Linked DNA regions of Homo sapiens: regions 2 and 3 are each linked to region 1. The links are contacts of gene promoters, found by promoter capture Hi-C in blood cells and fetal thymus (Javierre and others, 2016). All regions are on one chromosome and are shown on one strand. Each heading gives the region's core, a stretch centred on a gene start or on the middle of the fragment in contact. The rest is flanking DNA. Distances are from core to core; before and after follow the strand shown.

What was found. Contacts are between HindIII fragments. The CHiCAGO score rates a contact against its expected background, and 5 or more counts as called.
Region 2: a fragment that was not itself captured here is called in contact with the fragment with the promoter of MRPL28 in region 1 in 4 of 17 cell types (erythroblasts, activated CD4 T cells, naive CD4 T cells and 1 more); the score reaches 7.1 in erythroblasts.
Region 3: a fragment that was not itself captured here is called in contact with the fragment with the promoter of MRPL28 in region 1 in 14 of 17 cell types (erythroblasts, total CD8 T cells, megakaryocytes and 11 more); the score reaches 11.5 in erythroblasts.

What each region holds. Positions count from the first base shown.
Region 1 is chr16:369,088-371,787 of GRCh38, forward strand. MRPL28 (mitochondrial ribosomal protein L28) reads right to left here and starts at 1,451. Exons shown (of 6, transcript NM_006428.5): 1 at 1,412-1,451; 2 at 844-1,138; 3 at 1-133. The coding sequence starts at 1,131. PGAP6 (post-GPI attachment to proteins 6) reads right to left here. Exons shown (of 13, transcript NM_021259.3): 13 at 1,701-2,700. The HindIII fragment of the contact is 7,915 bases long and covers 1-1,836 here.
Region 2 is chr16:72,857-76,151 of GRCh38, forward strand. LOC124903617 (a long non-coding RNA gene) reads left to right here. Exons shown (of 2, transcript XR_007064932.1): 1 at 1-80; 2 at 1,524-2,134. It also overlaps a transcript of RHBDF1 not described here. Among named protein-coding and RNA genes, the nearest start is that of RHBDF1, 1.9 kb to the left of the region's middle. RefSeq lists enhancers at 1-806, 807-1,623, 1,624-2,441. The HindIII fragment of the contact is 1,666 bases long and covers 1,203-2,868 here.
Region 3 is chr16:55,747-58,973 of GRCh38, forward strand. It overlaps SNRNP25 (small nuclear ribonucleoprotein U11/U12 subunit 25), which reads left to right. Exons shown (of 5, transcript NM_024571.4): 3 at 31-136; 4 at 793-867; 5 at 1,340-1,923. The coding sequence ends at 1,397. RHBDF1 (rhomboid 5 homolog 1) reads right to left here. Exons shown (of 18, transcript NM_022450.5): 18 at 2,313-3,013. The coding sequence ends at 2,594. Among named protein-coding and RNA genes, the nearest start is that of SNRNP25, 3.5 kb to the left of the region's middle. The HindIII fragment of the contact is 6,639 bases long and covers 1-3,227 here.

The sequences.
Region 1 (2,700 bases), core at 201-2,700:
GCCCATAAGCCTCATCGATGAGGTCCAGGGTCCGCATGGTCACAGTCACTGTGAACTTCTTGTCCAGGATCTCACTGTAGAACTCTCGCTCAAACAGCTGTGGCTTCCACACTTTCTTCAGCCTCTTGGAGAGCTGAGGGTGCAACAGAGCCTCCATGAGTACTGCTGCTTTCTCTTACATACCAAGGGGGGCCCAGGCAACTGCCCTCACCTCCCCCCCGGAGGCTCCATCACAGAACCACTGCTGTCAGACTGGGGACCTAGAGCTAACTGGGCCGGCCCCCAGCCCAGTGCCGCCCCAGCCCGACCCGGGTCCTGACTGTGTACCCAGAAGTCAGCTGCTCCCCAACAAGCTGGGCGTTCCCGCCCTGGTCACATGGTTGCTGCATGTGTTTCAGAAACATGTGCGACCCCACAGTTTACAGGTTGTCACATTCCAACCTGGAGGTGACACAAGTCTCCCCACAGGCTTCAGCAGTCCCGCCAGGAAGTCCACCACAAGCAGCCTCGAAGCTCTGCTCGCCTCCCCCACCTGCTCTGCTCGCCTCTCCCACCTGCTCTGCTCATCACACAGGCCTCCTCCCCATCCTAACTTTACCCCGACTCCCCACGGCCTCTGGTTGCTCCCCCGGCCTGAGTCACCCCACCTCACCCCTACTTTATCAGTCCTGTTTGCCAGAACTGCGGTTCTTCACTCAGCGTGCTCCTTTGCCGGAGATGTGTCGCCTCCAGGCTGTAATCCCCAGGGCCCACCCAGGTCTCTCCAGGTACCCCGGGCGTCCGGCACAGAGCCGGCACAGCCAAGCCCTGAGAGGAGCCCCTGAAGGCCGCCTGCGGACCCACCTTGTCGTTGTTGGCATATATTTGGCCCAGGATCCAGCCCTCGCCGCCCCACAACCCCCGCTGGGATTCGGGGGGAAAGTAGATGGGAATGGGCACGTCCTCCACACGCTCCCGCTGCCCGTTCTTGGGGTTGATCTTGAACTTGGCCCCATGAGGCCTATAGTGCACGGGAGTGGGCGTCCGCTCCTCCTCCAGGGAGCGCAGGTAGTGGCCGGGCAGGCGGGAACAGATGCCCTCCCGCAGCTGCAGCCGCTTCCAGAGCCACACGGGATACTTGTGTAGAGGCATCGCGAGCCTGGCGGGAGGTGGGGGCTCGCAGTCAGTCGCAGCCTGGCCAGGCCCCCGGCACTCACCCCCTACCCCGGCCCCCGACTCTCACCCGCTACCCCGGCCCCCGGCTCTCACCCGCTACCCCGGCCCCCGGCTCTCACCCGCTACCCCGGCCCCCGGCTCTCACCCGCTACCCCCTACCCCGGCCCCCGGTTCTCACTCCGGCCCCTGTCCCGCACCCACCTGCCCCTCCCCTTCTGCCCCGGCGCCCCCCCACACCCCACCTGCCCGCGCCCACCTTTCAGGGTTCAGAGCCCACCGGAACCGGAAGCCGATCTGCCGCGCCTGGCCCTCCTCCCACCGCTGACTGGCTGTAAAAGCCATCCGTCTACCCCCTCGTCCCGCCCCGCTTCCGTCTTTAGGGACCGTAAAAAACACCCCACATACAGCAGCAGCAGCTCAAGGCACCGTTAGCTACGTGCGGCCCCGGCGTTTCCGCGAAGGGCGGCACGGGCGGGGCGGTGCTTGTTCTCCCGGGCCCCACTTACCCTACCCGGGAAGGAGCACAGAAAAAATGTAAAAACTCGTTTAGTTTGAAAAATCAATGTAGAATATTAAATTCACCAAACACAGATAGATCAGATCTACATAAAAATATGTCTTAATATCTTAGAATTTTCCTTTACTCCAAAAAACCCCATATATATATGTTTCTCCTTTATAAGCTTAGAGATTGCTTTGGTGGTCAAGTGCAGGGCGGCTGGGGGAGGTAAGACCTTCAGGAAGGCCATATCCCGGACAAGACCCAGAAGGGAAGCCCCCAGAGCCAAGGGTAGGAGGGCCCCACCCGGGTCTCAGCCACTCACTTCTCCAGGGCGGATCCGAGACACTCACAGGCCTCAGGGAGGGGCCAGGTGCTGCTCCTGGTCATTGCTTCCCCCACAAGGTTTGCATGAGGAGCAGAGACAGTCCAGTCTCCTGAACACCCACAGGGCACAGAGCCCAGTGCAGGGGGCAGACACCACCGCAGCTCCTGGGACCAAGAGGAAGCTCCCAGAGGGGGGCCCAGGAACGCTGGGGTGGGTGGACAGGGCTGGGTAGGGGTTCCTTCTGGGCCAAACCCCCAGAGCAGCAGAGCACCCCAGTCCAAGGAAGCTCTTCTCAGGGACCCAAGGCTCCAGAGCCAGGAAAAAGGGAGGGGCGGGGCGGGAGCCTGCATCCCCAGTGCCCATCAGCTCTGGGGGAAACCTCCGTCTCCCGTCCCTATGGTGACCACAGCAGCAGAGGGGGATCCTCCATGCCCCAGGCAGGCTGGCATCAGGGCCACACAGGGGCCAGGAGCAGGGGTCTCGGAGTCCACAGCTCCCGGCCCCAGTGGTGGGCTCAGGGCTCCTGGGCGCCATGGGTCTCACCACAGCCTCGCCAGGGAACAGGACCATAGGGAGTCCTTCTCCCCATCTCTAGCCACCCACAGGCCAGCAGAGCACACAGCCCCACCCTCGCACAGGCACCTGTGGTCTCCAAGTAACCAAGCCCAGGCCCCAGGGGCCACTGCAGACAGCAGCTGGGATCTGCAGAGGGATCTCA
Region 2 (3,295 bases), core at 786-3,285, 300 kb before region 1:
TCAGCGCTGGGCGGCTCCGCCTCTCCCTGGCTCCAGATTGAGGCTTGAGCTGTCCTGCCCTGATTTGTGCTGAGAAGAGGGTGAGGAGGGAGAGCAGGCACGGGGTAAAGGGCGGAGGATGGGTGTGTATCCCTGGCTCCCCTAAACCCGACCTCCTCCAGAGGCCCACGCTGACAAGTCCTGTATCCCACACTCACCCAATCCCACTAAGCACTCACATTCCCTCACACACATTCATGTGCACCGATCACTCACAATCATACACACACGTCCCCACATCCTTCCACTTCATGCGTTCATTCGCCTGCACATGCACGTGCTCACATGCACCCACCTACTCATGTACATCTTTCATGGGTACATACACGTGCACACACACACGTGTACACACCGATGCACACACTCAGTTCAGGACCACAGTCATTACCCCTCCCCCTGCCCTGTGCCCCTACCCCCAGAAGCCCCGCTCCACCAGCAGGCACTCAGGCCAGGCTGCACCGGCCCCACCCGAAGCCACTCAGCAGAGGCAGCGCAGTGTCTGGTGTCCACTCTGGGCTCTTCTCACTGTCTCAGAGCTCAGCGGCCACCCCGGGGTGGGCTCATATCCCTGCACAATCTGGGCTGGACTCAAAATGGCACTCTGCTTTCCGCTGGGGCTGCTGGTGAGAGTTTCCCAGCATTTCTCTCCTGACACTGGGTGGGCTGACCCTCCCAGGGTGGGGGACAGGGGTGCCAACAGCAGAGTACGGGCAGGGCTGTCCAGGAGCTCTGAGTGGTGGGTGGCCAAGGCTTCCTCTGGATAGAGGGTGCAGGGATCCCTTCGTCCCATGGGTCCCTAAGGACCCCTCTACAGGGTGCCCCCCCATGCCTCGGACAAATGTGTCTTCAGGCCCTGTGCTGGTCACAAGGTGCTGCTGCTTCAGTGCCATCCTCTGGGTCTGGGTGGCACCAGCCCTCTCCAAACTGAGCTGTTGCACTTGAGGGCCCGACGCAGACAATGGCCTGCTCCTTGGCTAGACAGAAAAGGGGAGAATTTGAACTAAAGGTGCTGGTACACTTACCGGTAGATCCCAGAGCCTGGGCAAGATTCCCCTGCCCATATCCTTGTCCATGCCACGGGATAGGGCGGTGCCTGCACATAATGGGTGCTCTCTGAACACAAGCAATATCAACACAATTCTCATGTAGAAGGAGACAATGGAAGCTTTGGAGGGGGTGGAGGGTAACTCCACCAGGGGATGACTGCCAGTGCATCACGGACACCGGGTGAGAGGGAGCCTGCCCCAGTGCCAACACTCAGTGCTCCGATAGCCTGCACGTGCCACCCCTCCCATGCCAGGCTCACAGCCAGAGACAGGACAGTCTCCATGCTTAGCATTATTGACCTGCCAGGGATAAGCAAGCCCTATCGGGCCTGGATGCCCAGACTAGGCTGGCAGGGCCAGAAGTGGTGTCCTCTCTGGAAAGCTGGGGACTGGGCTTGCCTCCAAAGCATGCCACAGCTGGGCATCTGGTGTCAGCAGGTCTCCTCCTGCAGTGGACTCTGTCAGACCCCACCTAGACCCGCTCCAAGACCCAGACACTCATCGCCAGCTGCCAGGAGCACCAGTCACAGCTGGCTCAGAGCTGAAACCCCCCGCACCCAGGAGTCACCTTCAGTGGGGAGCATGCCCCAGTCTGCCTCTGCAGGCAAATCCCCAGCTCAGAGCCTGTGTCCAGGAATCCCCAGGCTCTCAGCCCACCCTGGCCTCCTGAGTGAGGTCATCAGAAGGATGATCAGAGGGGGGTCGATACACGTGTGCTCAGTGTCAGGCCTCTGAGCCCAAGCCTGCACGTATACATCCAGATGAAGCAAGTGAAGAATCACAAAAGAAGTGAAAATGGCCGGTTCCTGCCTTAACTGATGACATTACCTTGTGAAATTCCTTCTCCTGGCTCAGAAGCTCCCCCACTGAGGCACCTTGTGACCCCCACTCCTCCCCGCCACAGAACAACCCCCTTTGACTGTAATTTTCCACTGCCCGCCCAAACCCTATAAAACGGTCCCACCCCATCTCCCTTCCCTGACTCTCTTTTCTTCGGACTCAGCCCGCCTGCACCCAGGTGAAATAAACAGCCTTGTTGCTCACACAAAGCCTGCTTGGTGGTCTCTTCACACGGACGCGCACGAAACTCAGGATTGTACCCAGTCCACATAGACAAGTGTGTGCACATATGTGTGCTCTGCCTCCTGCCTGCCCTACTACTCTCTGTCCTGGTGGAGGAGCCCCCTATACGGAAACCCAGCTCCCGGCCCCTCTCTTCCCGCGTCATGCACCCTGGAGAAATGGAAATCAGCTGCAGTTGCCCAGCACTCCCGGGGCTGGTGGGCAGGCGTCTGAGAATGGGTTAGGGTTAGGGTCTAGACCAAACCCAGGGTTTGTGGCCCTCACACCAGGACACGAGGGAATGGGAGCCCTGACCAGTAAGAGGAGTGTTCCCAACAGCTACCCCAGAATCCTCTGCTACCCCAGAATCCTCAGCTCAGCTTCTAGGCCACAAGTAATCACCCAAGGGGTCAGACCCTGGGCTTTGGGGAGTCCCTGGAAGGATCAGAAGAAACCGCCCGGGGAGCAGGGCTCCAGGGATGGGCCCATGACCAGCTCCTGGCTATTTGGGGAAGAGGCAGAAGGGGGCCAGGCCAGCCAGTGGCCTGAAGTCATAGGCTATTTCTGAGGCAGCTGCCCCCTCCCCATATCCCAGGGTTTGGCAAGGGGTTCCCATAAGCACCTGGGCCCAGGGCCTGGCAGCACAGCCCCAGGCAGGGAGGATGTAGCTCACACACACCCAACCTCGGCCTGCCCAGTGGCTGCCTTCTCTGCCCAAGGAAGCTTTGGCCCTCCAGGGCTCATCAGACACAGATGGCCGCAGAGACCAGTCAAGAGGCCAGCAGCCACCCTGCTGGGAAGCTGCCAGCTCAAAGCTGTGTAGAGGAGTCCATGGGCTCTGACCTGACACCCACCTCAACAGCTGTCAGCACCCCCCTCCATCAGAGAGAAGACGGAGCCAGTGTGCTGGGCACCCTGGGGTCATAAGGCTGATACTAGAACCCTGGCCCCTGTAGCCAATACAGCCACATCTCTCAAAGACTTGTTTATAAAGGCTCCAGCGACTGATGGCCACACCTCCTACAGCTGGAGGCAGCTCCAGCCCCTCCACAGCCTGTGGCCTATTGTGGAGGTCGGGGGTCAGGGCTGCTCACCCCAGCACCAATACTAGCCTTCACTCCTTTCAAAGCCTCAAGGGTGTTCTCATC
Region 3 (3,227 bases), core at 555-3,054, 310 kb before region 1:
ATCTTCTCCCATCTGTGTCCGTGGTTGCAGCCGTGGTTGTAGTGCAGAGTGCCACAGTCCTGGACCTGAAGAAGGCCATCCAGAGATACGTGCAGCTCAAGCAGGAGCGTGAAGGGGGCATTCAGCACATCAGCTGGTAAGTGGAACAACATTCCCTTCATTATAGCCCTTCGTGGGGCTAGTGCCCTTCTTGGCACTGTCACCAGGCACCACCTGGAAACAGCTCTCAGCTCTGCATGAGTACAGCACCACTGAAGTGATGAGCTCCCTGTCACAAGAGTGATGAGCTCCCTGTCACAGACAGTGCGGGTCGTTCTGTGCCTGGGACTCCTGCCTCGGCCATCCCCAACATTCTGCTCTTCCATCGGCATCACCCCATCCGAGCTGCTGGGTATCTTCACTTGGGGACACTGTCGGGAATTTCCAGTGTGTCTGGAAGTGGCCTCCCTAGTTTTGGATGGTACACCTGTAGGGGCTCCCATCCCCTTCTCACCTGGGTGCTGTCAGCCCTCACTCTCCTATTGGATCAACTATCCTGTTCACTGAGTCTCAACACTGTCGCCTGTTGCATTAGCAAGGTTTGTTTGGCCAAGCCGCCCCAGACAGCCCTCTGAGAACAGAGCCTCCTTGTAGCTGCCTCAGACCCAATCTGCACATTGTACAGAACAGCCCAGGTAGGGAGGACAGCTGCCCCAGGTCCCATAGGACTGCATGCCTCAAGCCCACGTCATGCAGAGCCACTCAGCTCACCCTGCTCAGGGCACGTGGTTTACCTGCATTCCCCTCTTGCAGGTCCTACGTGTGGAGGACGTACCATCTGACCTCTGCAGGAGAGAAACTCACGGAAGACAGAAAGAAGCTCCGAGAGTAAGTGCCGGCCACGTCCTGAGCCGTAGGGCACCGCTGTTCTGTTGCCCCTTAGTCCCCCATGCTCTGCCAGAGGGCTGCGGCTCCCTCTCCGGAGATAACACCCTCCTCCAAGGAGCTTCCTTGGGGCCCTCCCCACTAGGAGAATGGCAGGCAGAGGGCAGCTGGAGGGGCCTTGCTGCTTCCCACCAGTGGCAGCTTAGGGCTACACAGTGCCAGGAGGGAGGAAATCAGAGTGGGCATGGAGGCGAAAGGCTGTGACTCTATCTGACACTCAGTTCCCTGCCCCGGGGACTTGTGAGTCGGAGTGCTTCTGGGTCTGTGAGAGGATGGCCACTGCACTTCCTGGCCTTCCCAGAAGCCACACGCCTCCCCTCTGTTGTTTCTTCGTGGTCCTCCACAGCCTCAGGAGGGGAGTCACAGATATGTCCTTCTGTAGGGCAGGTGCTTTATGCCTTTCCTTCTTTTTCAGCTACGGCATCCGGAATCGAGACGAGGTTTCCTTCATCAAAAAGCTGAGGCAAAAGTGAGCCTCCAGACAGGACAACCCTCTTCATCACTGGTGGCTGAGCTTTTTCCCAGCAGGAATGGGTCCTCGAATCATCGTGCCTCTTTCACAGAAAGGACGTTGTGGTGGCCTCACCCCAGGCATGCCCAACAGTAACTGTCAGCATAAACCTGGGGGCCCTCAGGACTAGGACAGGGTGAGCCAGTGCTCCCTCCTTTCATGTACTTGGCCTGAGACTGACCTCTCCCTAGGTCCAAATGCCCTAGTCACATGGCAGACCCACGGCCTGGCCCACTGTATAAAATAAACCTGTTTGCTTCTTAGTTTGAAAAGTAGAAAGCCACAGTAACCTGGGTAGCAAAGACTGAGATTGCCCCATCACAGAGGTGAGTTAAGGGGAGAGAATTGGTACAGGCGAGTCCTATAGTCCAAGATGGCGCCACACCACCAAAGCCTTGAGGCCACACCACTCCCCAAACCACACAACTGTGTTACCATGATCTCCACAGCAAGGAGGAAATAAAAGCAGAGCGGCTTTAGGGTTTGCATCCTGGAGCTCACAGTGGCAGCAAGCATAGCACAGCTGTGTGTGGGCCCTCCAGCCTCAGCCTTTAGGGTTCCCTGCAGCAGGTTCGGTGGACAGGGAGGGAGTGTGGGGTGGAAATTGGAGCTGCTAAGGGTGGGGGCGGGGTGCTTCCCAGCATGTGGGGAGGGTATGACAGTACATCCCTAGGTCCCTGTCCCAGCGTCGGCTACCAGCCACTCTAAGAAAGAGCAAGGTGCACGTGCCTGGCTGAAGGATTTCACTGGGAAGTGAAAGAGCCCGTGACTGTATCTGACACTCAGTTCCCTGCCCGGGTGAGTCAGCCACAAGGGGCCTGCAGGACCTCCCTCCACAGCTTCCAGCCAGAAACAAAGAAGGATAGGGAAGCCCTGGTCAAGTTAATGGCAGCTAAAACGCTCCCAGTCCATTTATTGGCCACATGAGGTGGTCGTCAAGAAACAAGTTAGAAGGTTATGACAGGAAGTAGTATAATAAATGCCCGGCAGTACGAGGGGTTCAACAGAAGTGAACAAGGCACAAGAAAGAGGTCTGTGTTCAGGAAACAGGCCAGTCCCCACATGGAGCAGGTGACTCCTGTAAGCCTGTGAGGCTCAGGGAGGTCGTGTCTGGCTCTGGCCTGCTGGAGCACACGGCCGCTGGAGCCCGCAGCCAGCTCAGTGGAGCTGAGCGTCCAGTTCGTACTTCTCACAGAACTTGTCAGTGAAGGGGATGCAGGTGAGGAACTCACACCACTCACAGCGGACAGGATAGACGTAGAAGAGGACCACCAGGCCAGCCAGGAGGCCCAGGAAGACCACCTGAAAGATGATGATCTGGCAGCGTTTCCGGTACAGGTCGAACTTGCCAAAGCTGATGTAGGGCAAGAAGGCGAAGGAGAGGAAGAGGCCACTGATGAACCCTGAGATGTGGGCAAAGTTGTCAATCCACGGCAGCAGCCCAAAGGTGAAGAGGAAGAGCACCACAGCCAGCAGCTTGAAGAAGGCACGCCAGGGCCGCGCCAGGATCTGCCAGCTCTGGAAGAGCTCCACGAAGAGGCAGGCCAGGATGCCGAACTGGGAGCCAGCAGGACCCACCTGGGGGATGGTTGGGGTAGCTGTAAGGCAGTGGGGCTGGGCAGGCCCCCTGGACCCAAGGCCTCATCTTTCTGCCCCACTTCCCATGGCCCAGAGCATATTGGGACCGAGGATCCAACTGGAGATGCTCCCAGACTCAGTGCTCGATATGGACAGGTTCACAGCAGGCTGCAGGTGCACACGGGAGGATCCCCACCCTGAGGGCCAGCCTTAC